Linked DNA regions of Homo sapiens: region 2 is linked to region 1. Evidence: promoter capture Hi-C in human tissues and cell types (Jung and others, 2019). All regions are on one chromosome and are shown on one strand. Each heading gives the region's core, a stretch centred on a gene start or on the middle of the fragment in contact. The rest is flanking DNA. Distances are from core to core; before and after follow the strand shown. Region 1 holds the start of TMEM171 (transmembrane protein 171). Region 2 has its middle 26 kb from the start of FCHO2-DT.

Evidence for each region. The method cuts DNA at HindIII sites, captures the fragments that hold promoters and counts their contacts. A contact is called where the count stands out against the background at its distance.
Region 2: a contact is called between a fragment that was not itself captured here and the fragment with the promoter of TMEM171 in region 1, in 2 of the 25 tissues and cell types used here (mesenchymal stem cells and spleen).

The regions. Positions count from the first base shown.
Region 1 is chr5:73,114,779-73,122,427 of GRCh38, forward strand. It overlaps TMEM171 (transmembrane protein 171), which reads left to right and starts at 5,797. Exons shown (of 4, transcript NM_173490.8): 1 at 5,797-5,918. LOC124901001 reads right to left here and starts at 5,713. Exons shown (of 2, transcript XM_047417978.1): 1 at 1-5,713. The coding sequence starts at 5,651. The coding sequence ends at 4,950. RefSeq lists an enhancer at 4,636-5,187. The HindIII fragment of the contact is 7,583 bases long and covers 797-7,649 here.
Region 2 is chr5:72,926,109-72,933,757 of GRCh38, forward strand. No RefSeq gene overlaps it. Among named protein-coding and RNA genes, the nearest start is that of FCHO2-DT, 26 kb to the right of the region's middle. The HindIII fragment of the contact is 3,971 bases long and covers 2,200-6,170 here.

The DNA.
Region 1 (7,649 bases), core at 4,547-7,046:
GGCAACCAGGTAGTGGAGGGGCCAGAACCGAGGATATGGAGATTGGGCCAAGACATGCAGATGGATCCAGGAGATGTGAGGCAGGTAGAATCCTGAGCCCTGGGCCACTGACAGGCTAAGGAATCACCCTTGGCAGGATACCACATGCCCCTCTAAAGATACCAGCAGCAGCAAGTCCCATTTCAGAAGCTTTGGAGGCTGCAGACCTTGGGAAAACAAAGGTAGATCAACAGGGCAGATAACACAAGTTGGACGGGCTGGTTTTTGAGATGATGCGATGCACACCTTTAAGAACTCCTAGAAATAACTGAGAGATGCGCTATAGGGAGAAACAGCTGAGCTGGCAGGCTGGGAACTCCAACCATTGCCAACTGGGCATCAGAAATCAACAGAGCCACAGTTTGCTCTCAGTGAGCACCCTGATCGACCTCCCCTGCTATTTCTTTACAGTCTCCATGGATTCATCAGCTCAAGCTTCCTGAGCCACAGGTGGAAGATGAGATGAGTGTAGCTAGACGAGTAGTAGTTAAGGAGAAATCCATTTATTGATCACTCTCCATGTGCCAGATATTTACTCTTCAAGCAAGACATCCTTCGAGGTAGGTCTGGTTATTCTCACATTACAGATGAGAACACTAAGATACAGAAAAGATGTTTACTTGCCCCAGGTCACACAGCTGGTAAGTGACAAAGCCAGGATCTAAACTCAGTTTGATTCATCCCCTTTCTGCATGCTGGGGAGACAGTGCATTCTTTGGGATCCAGTCAGCAGTGAATGAGTGAAGAGACAGTACTTTTCCAAAGAACTCTTAATATCAACACGTTGGTCTCCTCTAGCCACAGACCAGATGCTGTGGCCACTGTTGAGGGGGGGTCTTTCTCCCTTGGCAGTGCAGAGGCCTCTTCAGAAAAGCCAAGTGTGCTCCCAGCAAATTCTTACTTTCGCTGAAACAACTGCTTGCATTCTACACCCTTGGCTAAGGCTAGCAGCACTCAGGCTGAGCTGTTATTAACTGTGCAAAATCAACAGCACCATCTCACGCCATAAAATGACTCTGCAAAAGATTAGCCTTTGCACTAGGATCAGCTAAGGGAGCCAGTCTAAACCCTTAATTCAAGCTTTCCAAATTAGTCAGCCTCTACTTGCACTCCTGATATGTCTCTGAAGCCCCTGGGTCTAAGTCCGACCTGGGGGTTAGGGAGGAGGAAAATATCCCAGGGACTTTGGTACACCCTTTTCAGGGTTATACAGCTGGATGGGGCCCAGGTTGGTTCAGAGGAGTCATTGGGAGTCCTGGAAATATGTGTTGAAACATGGACCCAAGACTGAGCGCTCAAGAATAAATTCCTATAAACCAAGCCCAGCTGGGGCTCAGAAAACATCAGAAATTGGAAGCAGGGAAATGTGTGCTTCTGGGTGCTAAGATTAATTTGGGGCAGAATTAGAAAGAGACCAAAAGAGAAAAGAGACCTAGAAGTTGGCAGACTTGATTAGCTGATTGTCTTTCTGCCATCTTATGAATTCTGAAAAATGGTGCCACTGAATTCTGCAGGTCAATCCACTTGCCCTGAGTTTCTTCTCAGGGTTGGCAGTGCCCTGGGAAGAAATACGTGGCCTGTCTTGTTGAAGTGAAAGATATGTGTTCCTTAGGGCACTGTTTTGGGAACAGAGCAGCAGAAGCCCCCTGCTCTGGGTGAAACTCATGCCTCCCAGCCGCACTAGCTGTGCTCTGCACCCCAGAAACATCTGAAAACTGCACTTGGTTGGCACCAGCCCCTCCCTTGCTTTGTGTGTTTAGAACCCTCCAAAGGACTAATTGTTACTCTTCCAGAGAGGGAGCCCAGCCTCCTCAATTTTGTAATGTCACTCACAGACCACAGGAAAGTATTCCTTCCGAATTCCTGAACTCCAAGCCTCCATATTCAATTGCCTACTCAGCTTCTCTACTCGGATGTCTAATGGACAAAATTAACATGTCCCCAAATGGACTCTGAAGCTCCTCCTCTCAAACTTGTCCCACTCTTAGGATTCCCCATCTTGCTCATGCCAGAACCATTCTTCCACTTGCTCAGATCCAAAACCTTGGAATCAAAACCCACATGTGGTTCATGGAAAATCCCATTGACTCTATCTTCAAGATATATCCAAAGTCTCATCCCTTTCATCACCTTCATACACAAGCTACAGACATAACTCCTGGGTTGTTACCACAGCCTCCTAACTGGCCTCTTCCCATCCATCCTGGCTCCTCCTTGGGCTATTCTTACTGCAACAGCCACCAATTTCTTTTTTAAAAGAAATCAGATCACATCACTGTCAAAGCTCATCACATCAGCTCAAAAACCATTCAAAGGCTTCCCACCTACTTAAAGGCCCTGCACAACCTGGTGCCCTTGGCCCTGCACATGCCTTTCCTCTCTGACCTCCTCTCCTACTCTCCCCCTTGCTCACCAACTGCAGCCACCCTGGCCTCTTGCTCTCCTTTGAATATGCTAATATGTGTGTTCCTACCTCAGGGCCTTTGCACCTGTGGTTACTTCTGCCTGAAGCACTCTTCCCTACTTCCCACAAAAAATCACGAACTATGCTTACAAATTCTTACTCTTCCCTACAAGAGGTGGCACCTAATCCCATTCCCCTTGACTTTGTGACTCAATTCTAAGGACCAGAATAAAGAGAAGTGATGGTATGGAAGTGCAGAGCCTCGTCAGAAAAGGCACCACAGCTTCCCCTTTGTTTGCTCTCCCTTGGATCACTCACGTGAGGGGAGGCTGGGTGGAGAAATCCACATAGTGAGGAACTGAGGCCTCCTGCCAATAGCCCTGTGAATGTGCCACCTTGGCAGCAGATCCTCCAGCCCCAGTCCAGCCTTCAGATGACCACAGCCCTGGCCAACTGCTAGACTGCAGCCTCTGAGAGGCTCAGCCAGAAGTACCCAGCTAAGCCACTTGCAGTTTCTGACCCTGATCAGAAACCCTGAGAATACATTTTTGCTGTTTCAAACTTCAAAGTTTTGGGGTAAGTTGTTATGCAATAATAGATCATTGATACACTTGCTTCCTCATTCCCTTCAAGTTTTTGCTGCAATCTCACCTTCTCAGAGATGCCTTCCTTAACTCCCCTATTTAAAATGGGGTGCTCCCCAGTCCCCATCTGTGATTTATTGTTCTCCCTGGCACTCAATCACTTTCTAATTCTCTGTATAACTTACATATTTTATTGCCTTTCTCCTCAATAAAATACAAGTTCCGTGTTTTATTGGTAGTTGGTAAATCTGTGCTGGCTAAATACATGAACACATGCCTCTGCTTTATGCTTCTACAGTCACTGAATTCGAGGTTTTTAATCTTGTTCTGATGCTGTTTTTCTAAGGATTCGGTCTGGCTTTTATCTTTTTCACTACCACACAGGCCAGGGAAGACCACTAGATAGTGACCAGGCCACGCAGCTTCTCTCCTAAGGCTAGGTGGGCTACAAAGATAAGTACCTCAAAGGCTGGTGGGTATGTCTTTCATACATAATCGATGATCAATTTCCAAGGAGTTTAATTTAGTCAAACAGGCTCTCATAGACACAAACAGTGAGAACAGCAGATATACCAAGTGGAGGCTAATCTGATTGTCCTTGGTGCCAGGATATTCAAGTCTGTCATGGGTGGTGAGCCTGCAGTCATGTGGCACCAGAGGGGCAGCTGTATCAACAGGCCCCTTGCAGGCCTGCACATGACATGGCCAGAGATTCAGTTTCAAATAAGGGGGAAGGGAAGAATGAGTAGGGAAAGGACAAGGAAACCCTTTTGCACAATGAAGAGTTGTTCACAGGCCTGTGTCAGAGGGGACAAATCCTATAATGAGGGCCTGAGTTCTTAGAAAGCCAGTGCCTGCTGTTGTACAATCCACTCTTGGGTATCTGCCCATTCGCTGGACATGCTTTGGTGCCCTTCCAGAAGGTGGTATACCTTGACACTTGGACCAGGAAGGATATCTCCACCCCAAACATAGATTACTGCAATGTCCTTGGGACACAGTGCCTGTATTGTTATAATAATCTAAACGTGCTTGGCATCACAAGGCCATGAGGGCGTTTTCTGGGTTCACAGCATGGTGTGTTCTCTGAGTGACAGGTGTGCTGCGGGAGAAACACTGAATGGTCAGCGCATCTGCATCTGGCTCAGGCCTTCTCTGCATGTCAACCAGCTGCAGAGGTTACTTTACCTCTGTCAGCCTGGACCTCAGTTTCCTCAACTGACAAATGACTGTTTTTCTCAGTCTCCTGTCCCCTGCTGCCTCCAACCTTTTCTGAACTGCTGGAGAGATGTAGCAAAGAACCACAAAGCAAGGGGTCGTGAGTGTTGGCATTGTTCATTTCGACAGTAATCAGGGCTGTTAGTTATGGCGGGGATTTACAGAGGTCGGGCACCCTGGCTATGAAAAAGTCCACCTTTGGCCACCCAGGCAAGTGCCCCACCAAATTCCAATGGCAAGAACTTGTCCGTTCTGCCTCCCTGGTGAACCCTAAAGCCCAGGTAACCCCCTCCCCTCTTTACCTCTCTGACTGGTTCTTTAAGTCTCTTCTCACCTCTGATGATTAGCTAAGCCTGCTTCATACTTTACCTTCAGTGAGCATGACCAGGAATCTCTTGTTGTATCAGGTAGGTAAAGTGCTTGCTTGCACATTGAAAAGTTTCATCCATTGGCCTTAACTCTAGATAGGGTTTCAGGCAAGGCAGACAGGAAGCTGAGAAGAGAAGGCAGGGCTGGGAAGTCCCCGTGGCTCAGGGCACCTCTGCGCTTGGGCAGAGAACCCTTGACTCACCTTCCACCGTGCCCTGACCCCTGGTGTGGAAACTAGCACAGTTGGATCCGTATCACGTGTCACGGGGCTGGTTACAAATAGCACAGGGATTGGCAAACTCATCCCGAAACTCCCGGTTCAAGGGCAGGGAAAGTTACCAGTTTAATTCCGGCAGATCATTAGTGGTGGAGAACCAGGAAGGGGGTTCTATCGCAAAGGAGGGCTGTGCGCAGACACGTGGGTGCGGGAGGGGCAGAGCTGGTCCGGCGCGGGGCTTGCCGCGTCTCGGCCTCAGTCTCGGAGCCAGGACCTCAGGCCTGAATGGCTGGGTGTGGAGGGCCCTTGTCTCACATTCTGTAGAGCGCACGTCGTCCCGTGACCTGGTGGCTCCATATTCGATGGGGAGCTCGCAGCGAGTCGCTTCCCTCTGTAACCCCACTCCAGGTCTCCAGAGCAGTAGGAGGGCCACAGGGCTGCTGGGTGTAGTCGCCCCGGACCTCGCGGTGGCCAAGGCCAAGGCGGCCGGGGCACGGTACCCTGTTCGGCCTGGGCCGCAACCACGAAGGAGGCGGTGGAGGCGGGGGCCGGCGCTTCCTCCGCGCCCCCCACGCCGCCGCTCTCTCGCGCCCCTATAGAACTGGGCCTCAGGCCTCGAGGGGGAGCGGGCCTCGGCGGGCGGGGCGCACAGTTCCGCCAGCCGGCGGGGGCATCTCAACTCGCCGGCCCCGCCAGGTGTGCGGGCCAGGCAGCCGTGGAAGGTGCCCATTTCTCCCAGATTCCTCGCGCGCACGGCCACGAGCGCGGAGGCTGCCAAACCCGCCAGCCCTGGGTTCCGAAGCCGCCCCTGGCTCTCCATTCCCTCGCGGGCGCGCCCCGGGCCCCCAGTGGCGGCCAGCTCCCACCGGTCGCTCCTGCACTGCCCTGCCCTGCCCTCCCCGGGCCGCCGCGCCCGCGCAGCACCGCCTCCTTCTCTAAATACTGCCGGGTCCGCCCTCCGCACCAGGACGCGCGGTGGGTAGGGTGCAGGGCGGCCGGCGCAGCCGAGGCCGCGTGCGGAGGCGGACGCCGCGCCCAGCCAGTGCCCACAGCAGCGCGGTCAGCCAGGCGCCGGACCCAGCTTCAGGTAAGCTGCCCCGGCCCGCGCGCCTGCGCCGGCGGCGGCGGGTCGGGCGCTGAGCTGTGCGGCCAGGCTGGGCGCGGGGAGCCGCGGCAGCGCGGAGGCGCTGGGTATCCGAGCCCAACCTGCGTCCCTGCGAGCCCCTCCGGCTGTTGCTTGCGCTCGGGCTCCCTAAAAGCCGCAAACCGATTTCGCACAGAAGGCATTTGCCTCTCGTTTCGTTCCCCAAACGCACCATAGCTTTGGACGTGGAGAGGTGCTGTGAATTTTGGAAATGTCTTTTGGAAAACCAATAGGAGTGTTGGAGAGGGGAGTTTGGCTTTGGGGAGTTTAAGTGTAGGGTGGTGTTTGGAAAAGGTTTCATTGCGAGTGAATGTGGGTGTCTTTGTATCCGTTTGTGAGTGCATCTGTGGGAGAAGGAGAGAGAGAGAGTATTTCCACACTATTATGGATCAGAGGTGAACACTCAGCCAGGTGCTCCGTCCACTAGTCCACGGACAAGAAACTACAGATTCAGTTTTGGGCTTCTATTTACTGGTGTTTGGGAATTTGCCTTAAGACAGTTGAAGCCTTGTGACTCACTGCAAAGTTGACTATACTGGGAATAAATGAATTCCTGATAGGACTTTGCAGCCGAGAATCACCCTTCTCTTTCTTGTCTCCGAAACCGCAAAAGAGATTGCATGATTCAGGAAAAAAATTAAAACAACAACAATAACAAAAAACCAATATATATAGGTTTCAGGACTCTCCATCGTTTCATTCCACTGAGAGTTTTGGAATGTACTCCCTGTAGGATAAATGAGGACTACTGTATACTCAATATGAAATTCTTATTCACTGCAGGATGTTACTGACTTAATAAAAAATGGGAAGATTAAAAAATTAGTGCAATGCTTTGTCTCAGCTTAACTGCATCTGTATATCAAGTTTTTCCAAGTTTGAAATGAAAGCTTTTTTCCCTCCTATATTTCCTTTTTTTCTCCAACTTCCTTCTGATTCTATCATACTTTTTCCTGGAAAAGTTTTTCCCAGTGTAAGATTGCCTGTTTGCTTTCTTTACCTAAACTGACCTTCCCTCAGTGTGATTTTGGTTTGTCAAGATCATCTTGGGCTTAGGGCCTCAGTCTTGAGTTCCTTCATGGGACCATGGATGTGAGCGGCACAAAATATTTTAAAAGTTTTCTTTCCTTGGGCAGGTGAAAATAGTCTTCACGATTTTGGATTGTCTTTGCAATTGCAGGACCTGACTTACGGGGTCCTGGTAAAATATCCCATTCATTGGAGTAAAATAAGATAACGAGATAATTAGGTCAGCTCTGTGTAAGCTAGACAACTCTTTAACAACCACTTGGCATATTTAATATATTATACCCCTGAAGTACAGGGCTTGGGTGATTTTCTGGAAGGTGCTTTCTCACTTGATTCCACTTATACTATTCTTTCAAAGCCAAGTTCCCCCCTTCCACCCATTTTGTGCTTTATAACTAGCAGTTTTATTGGCTGCTTGTTTTTTAACTGAGTCTCAACCTCTTTGTGGAAGTAGGTGACACCATGGAGGAGGGTGAGTGAGAGGCCACACCAGCCTTTGGGTACCTGTCCACTCTGAAAATTGAGCTCCTGTTGACCTGCTGTGCAACACTTTCCAGGGTCATCCCAGATCCAAGCAACTGGGTCACCAGTCTGTGCTTGTTGAGAACCCAAGAACCATTTTGTTTTGTTTTGTTTTGTTTTTGG
Region 2 (7,649 bases), core at 2,935-5,434, 190 kb before region 1:
TAGAGGATTGTAAATGCATCAATCAGCACTCTGTGTCTAGCTCAGGGATTGTATATGCACCAATCAGCACTCTGTCAAAATGGAGCAATCAGCTCTCTGTAAAACGGACCAATCAGCTCTCTCTGTAAAATGGACCAATCAGCAGGATGTGGGTGGGGCCAGATAAAGGAATAAAAGCAGACTGCCCAAGCCAGCAGTGGCAACCTGCTCAGGTCCCCTTCCACGCTGTGGAAACTTTGTTCTTTCGCTCTTCGCAATAAATCTTGCTGCTGCTCATTCTTTGAGTCCGCACTGCCTTTAAGGGCTGTAACACCGTGAGGGTCTGCAGCTTCACTCCTGAAGGCAGCAAGACCATGAACCCACCAGAAGGAACGAACAACTCCAGATGCACTGTCTTTAAGAGCTGTAACACTCACCGCAAAGGTCTGCAGCTTCACTCCTGAATCAGCGAGACCACGAACCCACCAGAAGGAAGAAACTCTGGACACATCTGAACATCTGAAGGAACAAACTCCGGACACACCATCTTTAAGAACTATAACACTCACCACAAGCGTCTGCAGCTTCATTCTTGAAGTCAGCGAGACCAATTTCAGACACATTTTGGTGACCCAGATGGGACTATCACCTATCGCCAAGTGGTGAGACTATTGCCTATCGCTGAGCAGTGAGACTGTTGCCTATTGCCAAGCAGTGAGACTATTGCCTATCACCAAGCAGTGAGAACCATTGGACCCCTTTTGCTTGCTATTCTGTCCTATTTTTCCTTAGAATTCGGGGGCTAAATACTGGGCACCTGTCGGCCAGTTAAAAGTGACTAGTGCGGCCGCCAGACTAAAGACACAGGTGTCAGGCTTTCTGGGAGAGGGCTAACAACCCCCAACTCTTCAGAGTTGGGAGCATTGGTTTGCCTGGAACCAGCTTCTCCTTTTCCTGTACTTCTGGGCTGAGCCAAGGGTTGACAGAGAGGAAAGCCATTCAGCTCCAGGGTCCCGAAAACAAGTTGATTGACCCTGCAGCCATGAGCAGAACTCTCAAAGTCATGTCGCCCAAGCGAGACTCGCCCATCTATTCTATCTACCCTGACCCTTGCCCCCTGGGTCCTAATGCCTGCCAAACAAACCTCCTCTCGCCTCTCTTCTCCGAGGCTAGTCCCACTTCTAAACATCACTCCCTGTCTCTGGTGCTTTTCTAGTTTCTCCTATAAGAATGACTGCTAGTATAAACTCTAGGACTCTGTTCCCTTCTTTAGGCACCTAGGCTCACCAATCAGAAAGACATAATTTTTGCCCAAAGCCCCATCATAGTGGGGACTACCTGGAATTGTAGGATCCCTCCTCAGACTAGCAGGCCTAACAAAAGCTATTCCTGAAGCTAGGATATGGGGAGCCTCAGAAATTGTGTCCTTTCTATTCATATAAGTGAGGACAAAAGGTGTCACTCTTCCAACCCTGGAGAATCTCTTCCCTCCCTCAGGGTATGGCCCTCCATTTCATTTTTGGGGCATAACATCTTTATAGGACATGGGTAAGGTCCCAATACTAATAGGAGAATGCTTAGGACTCTAACAGGTTTTTGAGAATGTGTCGGTAAGGGGCCACTAAATCCGATTTTTCTGGGTCCTCCTTGTGGACTAGGAGGACAGGCAAGGGTGCAGGTTTTCGAGAATGCATCAATAAGGGCCACTAAATCCGACCTTCCTCAGTCCTCCTTGTGGCCTGGGAGGAAAACTAGCATTTCTGCTGCTACATTGGTGAGTGCAACTATTCCGATCAGCAGAGTCCAGGGACTTTTGCGGGTTCTTGGGCAGGGGTTGTTTCTGCTGCTGCGTTGGTGAGTGCAACTGTTCTGATCAGCAGGGTCCAGGGACTGTTGTGGGTTCTTGGGCAGGGGGAGAAACAAAACAAACCAAAACCGTGGGTGGTTTTGTCTTTCAGATAGGAAACAGGCATCAACAGGCTCACCCTTGAAATGCATCCTAAGCCATTGGGACCAATTTGACCCACAAACCCTGAAAAAGAGGTGGCTCATTTTTTTCTGCACTATGGCTTGGCCCCAATATTCTCTCTCTGATGGGGAAAAATGGCCACCTGAGGGAAGTATAAATTATAATACTATTCTGCAGCTTGACCTTTTCTGTAAGAGAGAAGGCAAATCGAGTGAAATACCTTATGTCCAAGCTTTCTTTTCATTGAAAGAGAATACACAACTATGCAAAGCTTGCAATTTACATCCCACAGGAGGACCTCTCAGCTTACCCCCATATCCTAGCATCCCTATAGCTACCCTTCCTATTAATGATAATCTTCTTCTAATCTTCCCTGCCCAGAAGGAAATAAGCAAAGAAATCTCCAAAGGACCACAAAAACCCCCAGGCTATCGGTTATGTCCCCTTCAAGCTGTAGGGGGAGGGGAATTTGGCCCAACCCGGGTACATGTCCCCTTCTCCCTGTCTGATTTAAAGCAGATCAAAGCAGACTGGGGAAGTTTTCAGATGATCCTGATAGGTACATAGATGTCCTACAGGGTCTAGGGCAAACCTTTGATCTCACTTGGAGAGATGTCATGCTACTGTTAGATCAAACCCTGGCCTTTAATGAAAAGAATGCAGCTTTAGCTGCAGCCCGAGAGTTTAAAGATACTTGGTATCTTAGTCAAGTGAATGATAGAATGACAGCCGAAGAAAGGGATAAATTCCCTTCTGGTCAGCAAGCTGTCCCCAGTATGGATCCCCACTGGGACCTTGACTCAGATTATGGGGACTGGAGTCATAAATATCTGTTGACCTGTGTTCTTGAAGGACTAAGGAGAATTAGGAAAAAGCCCATGAATTATTCAATGATGTCCACCATAACTCAAGGAAAGGAAGAAAATCCTGCCTTCCTTGAGCAGCTATGGGAGGCCTTAAGGAAATATATTCCCCTGTCACCCAAATCACTCGAGGGTCAATTGATTCTAAAAGATAAGTTTATTACCCAGTCAGCTGCAGATATCAGGGGAAAGCTCCAAAAGCAATCCCTGGTCCCTGAACAAAATTTGGAGGCATTACTAAACCTGGCAACCTCAGTGTTCTATAATAGGGACCAAGAGGAACAAGCCCAAAAGGAAAAGCAAGATCAGAAAAAGGCTGCAGCCTTAGTCTTGGCCCCCACACAAGCAAGCCTTGGTGGTTCAGAGAGGACAGAGGGTGGAGCAGGCCAATCACCCAGTAGGACTTGTTACCAGTGTGGTTTGCAAGGACACTTTTAAAAAGATTGTCCAGTGAGAAACAAGCCGCCCCCTCGTCCATGTCTGCTATGCCAAGGCAATCACTGGAAGGTGCACTGCCCCAGAGGACAAAGGTTCTCTGGGTCAGAAGCCCCCAACCAGATGATCCAGCAACAGGATTGAGGGTGCCTGGGGCAAGTGCCAGCTCATGTCATCACCCTCACTGAGCCCCGGGTACATTTAACCATTGACGGCCAGGAAATTGACTTCCTCCTGGACACTGGCGCGGCCTTCTCAGTGCTAATCTCCTGTCCTGGACGACTGTCCTCAAGGTCCATTACCATCCGAGGAATCCTGGGACAGCCTGTAACCAGGTATTTCTCCCATCTCCTCAGTTGTAATCGGGACACTTTGCTCTTTTCACATGCCTTTCTTGTTATGCCTGAAAGTCCCACACCCTTATTAGGGAGGGATATATTAGCCAAAGCTGGAGCTATTATCTACATGAATATGGGGAACAAGTTACCCATTTGTTGTCCCCTACTTGAGGAGGGAATCAACCCTGAAGTCTGGGTATTGGAAGGACAATTTGGAAGGGCAAAAAATGCCTGCCCAGTCCAAATCAGGCTAGAAGACCCCACCACTTTTCCTTATTAAAGGCAATATCCCTTAAGGCCTGAAGCTCATAAAGGATTACAGGATATTGTTAAACATTTAAAAGCTCAAGGTTTAGCAAGGAAATGCAGCAGTCCCTGCAACACCCTAATTCTAGGAGTACAAAAACCGAATGTTCAGTGGAGACTAGTGCAAGATCTTAGACTCATCAATGAGGTAGTAATTCCTTTATATCCAGTTGTACCCAACTCCTATACCCTCCTCTCTCAAATACCAGAGGAAGCAGAATGGTTCACAGTGCTGGACCTCAAGGTTGCCTTCTTCTGTATTCCCCTGCACTTTGACTCCCAGTTTCTCTTTGCCTTTGAGGATCCCACAGACCACACATCCCAACTTACGTGGACAGTCTTGCCCCAAGGGTTCAGGGATAGCCCTCTCCTGTTTGGTCAGGCACTGGCCAAAGATCTAGGCCACTTCTCAAGTCCAGGCCCTCTGTTCCTTCAGTATGTGGATGATTTGCTTTTGGCTACCAGTTCAGAAGCCTCATGCCAGCAGGCTACTCTAGATCTCTTGAACTTTCTAGCTAATCAAGGGTACAAGGTATCTAGGTCGAAGGCCCAGCTTTGCCTACAGCAGGTCAAATATCTAGGCCCAGAGGGACCAAGGCCCTCAGCAAGGAATGAATACAGCCTATACTGGCTTATCCTTGCCCGAAGACATTAAAACAGTTGTGGGGCTTCCTTGGAATCACCGGCTTTTGCTGACTATGGATCCCCTGATACAGTGAGAAAGCCAGGCCCCTCTATACTCTAATCAAGGAAACCCAGAGGACAAATACACATCTAGTAGAATGGGAACCAGAGGCAGAAACAGCCTTCAAAACCTAACAGCAGGCCCTAGTACAAGCTCCAGCCTTAAGCCTTCCCACAGGACAAAACTTATCTTTATACGTCACAGAGAGAGCAGAGATAGCTCTTGGAGTCCTTACCCAGACTCGTGGGAAAACCCCACACCAGTGGCATACCTAAGTAAGGAAACTGATGTAGTAGCGAAAGGCTGGCCTCACTGTTTACGGGTAGTTGCGGCGGTGGCTGTCTTAGTGTCAGAGGCTATCAAAATAATAAAAGGAAAGGATCTCACTGTCTGGACTACTCATGATGTAAATGGCATACTAGGTGCCAAAGGAAGTTTACGGCTATCAGACAACTGCCTACTTAGATACCAGGTGCTACTCCTTGAGGGACTGGTGCTTCAAAAATGTACATGCATGGCCCTCAACCCTGCCACTTTTCTCCCAAAAGATGGGGATCCAATCGAGCATGGCTGCCAACAAATTATAGTCCAGACTTATGCTGCCCGAGATGATCTCTTAGAAGTCTCCTTAGCTAATCCTGACTTTAACCTATATACCAATGGAAGTTCATTTGTGGAGAATGGGATACGAAGGGCCGGTTATGCCATAGTTAGTGATGTAACCATACTTGAAAGTAAGCCTCTTCCCCCAGGGACCAGTGCCCAGTTACCAGAACTAGTGGCATTTACCCGAGCTTTAGAACTGGGAAAGGGAAAAAGAATAAATGTGTATACAGATAGCAAGTATGCTTATCTAATCCTACATGCCCATGCTGCAATATGGAAAGAAAGGGAATTCCTAACCTCTGGGGGAACCCCTATTAAATACCACAAGGAAATTATAGAGTTATTGCACACAGTGCAAAAACCCAAGGAGGTGACAGTCTTACATTGCCAAAGCCACCAGAAAGGTGAAGGAGAAAAGGCAGGAGGAAACTGTCAGGCAGAAGCTGAGGCCAAAATTGCTGCCAGGCAGAACCTCCCACTAGAAATACCTACGGAAGGACCCTCGGTATGGAACAACCCCCTCCAAGAGATTAAGCCCCAGTATTCCCCAACTGAAGCAGAGTGGTGACTTTCATGGGGGCATAGTTTTCTCCCCTCAGGGTGGTTGGCGACAGAAGAAGGAAAGGTACTTATACCCGAAGCCAGCCAGTGGAAAATACTTAAAACCCTCCACCAAACTTTTCATATGGGTATTGAAAACACTCATCAAATGGCCAAATCCCTATTAACAGGGCCAAATCTCCTCCAAACCATCCAACAAGTAGTCAAAGCCTGTGAGATGTGCCAAAGGAATAATCCCTTGGTCCATCATAAGGCCCCTTTGGGGGAGCAAAGAATAGGTCACTATCCTGGAGAGGACTGGCAGTTAGACTTCACCCATATGCCTAAGTCAAAGGGATTTCAATACTTGTTGGTCTGTGTTGATACCTTTACAAATTGGATAGAAGCTTTCCCCTGCAAGACAGAGAAGGCTCAGGAAGTGACTAAAGTCCTAATTCATGAAATAATTCCTAGATTTGGGCTTCCCCAAAGCTTACAGAGTGACAATGGTCCAGCTTTTAAAGCCACGATAACTCAGGGAATTTCCAGGGTGCTAGGGATACAATATCACCTTCACTGCTCCTGGAGGCCACAATCCTCAGGAAAGGTCGAGAAGGCAAATGAAACACTCAAGAGGCACTTAAGGAAACTAACACAAGAAACTCATCGCCCATGGCCTACTCTTTTGCCCATGGCCCTGTTGGGAATCTGAAATTCTCCCCACAAAATAGGGCTCAGTCCATATGAAATGCGGTATGGACGACCTTTTCTCACAAATGACCTCCTACTTGATCAGGAAATGGCCAACTTGATCAAAGATATAGCTTCTTTGGCAAAATATCAACAAAACCTTAAAAACCTACCTGCAGGATGTCACAGAGAAAAGGGAACAGAGTTGTTTCAACTAGGAGATCTAGTGTTGGTCAAATCTCTCCCCTCTACCTCCCCATCTATGGACTCTTTGTGGGAAGGACCACACTTGCTAATCCTCTCTACTCACTGCACTTAAGGTGGCAGGAGTGGAATCTTGGATTCACCACACCCAAGTTAAACTTTGAACACCCCCTGAGGAACCTGCAGGACTATCAGCTTAGGAGTCCCAAGATCAGCCAGACCAGCCTCGATACACCTGCGAACCATTGGAGGATTTGCATCTCCTATTTTAGAAGGAAACATCCCAGACTAAAAAGGCTCCTACCACTGATCCTGAGGAAAAACCCCTTCCTCCTTAAAAAAGATAAGTGAAAACAGCTTTAACCATACTCTTTGCGATAGGACTATATACTGTAGCTCCTGCCTGGACAAAAATCCTAATCACATCAACCTTCTTTCTATCTTCCTTCCTTTTGACAGCAGTTTACTCCTACTTTTAACTCAGACTTGATAAAATGATCTCTTCTTCCAGAGCACCCCCTTTATCTTCCTATTTGCTCATTGCCTATGTATCCCTCCTGCTTCCTTGGATACCTCATACAATCACCCCTCCCCTTCCACTAGCTCCTAATTACCTCTAAAAGACTATCAATTTAACCCACTGTCTGTTAAACCAGTCCAATCCTTCCCTGGCAAATGACTGTTGGCTTTGTATCTCTCTATCAACCTCTGCTTATGTTGCCACTCCCATTCCCGCAAAAAACTGGGTCTTTCTTTACCAATTTAACCTACCACCCTTGTTATGAAGGAAAAGACTCTTTCTGACTTCTAAAAATACAATCATTAGCCAACTTCTCCATCCCTGATAGGACCAAGAATACCCTAACAGGACGTGCAATCCAACTTTTACGTTCTTACATTTCCAACCTCACCTATTACACAAGCAATGAAAAGCCCATACATGGCCTGGTAACTATGAATACCATCTTAACTTTCCAAGCCCCTTTATGCATCCAACGCAACCTGTTATCAGGCCTGCCCCTGGGGCACCTACT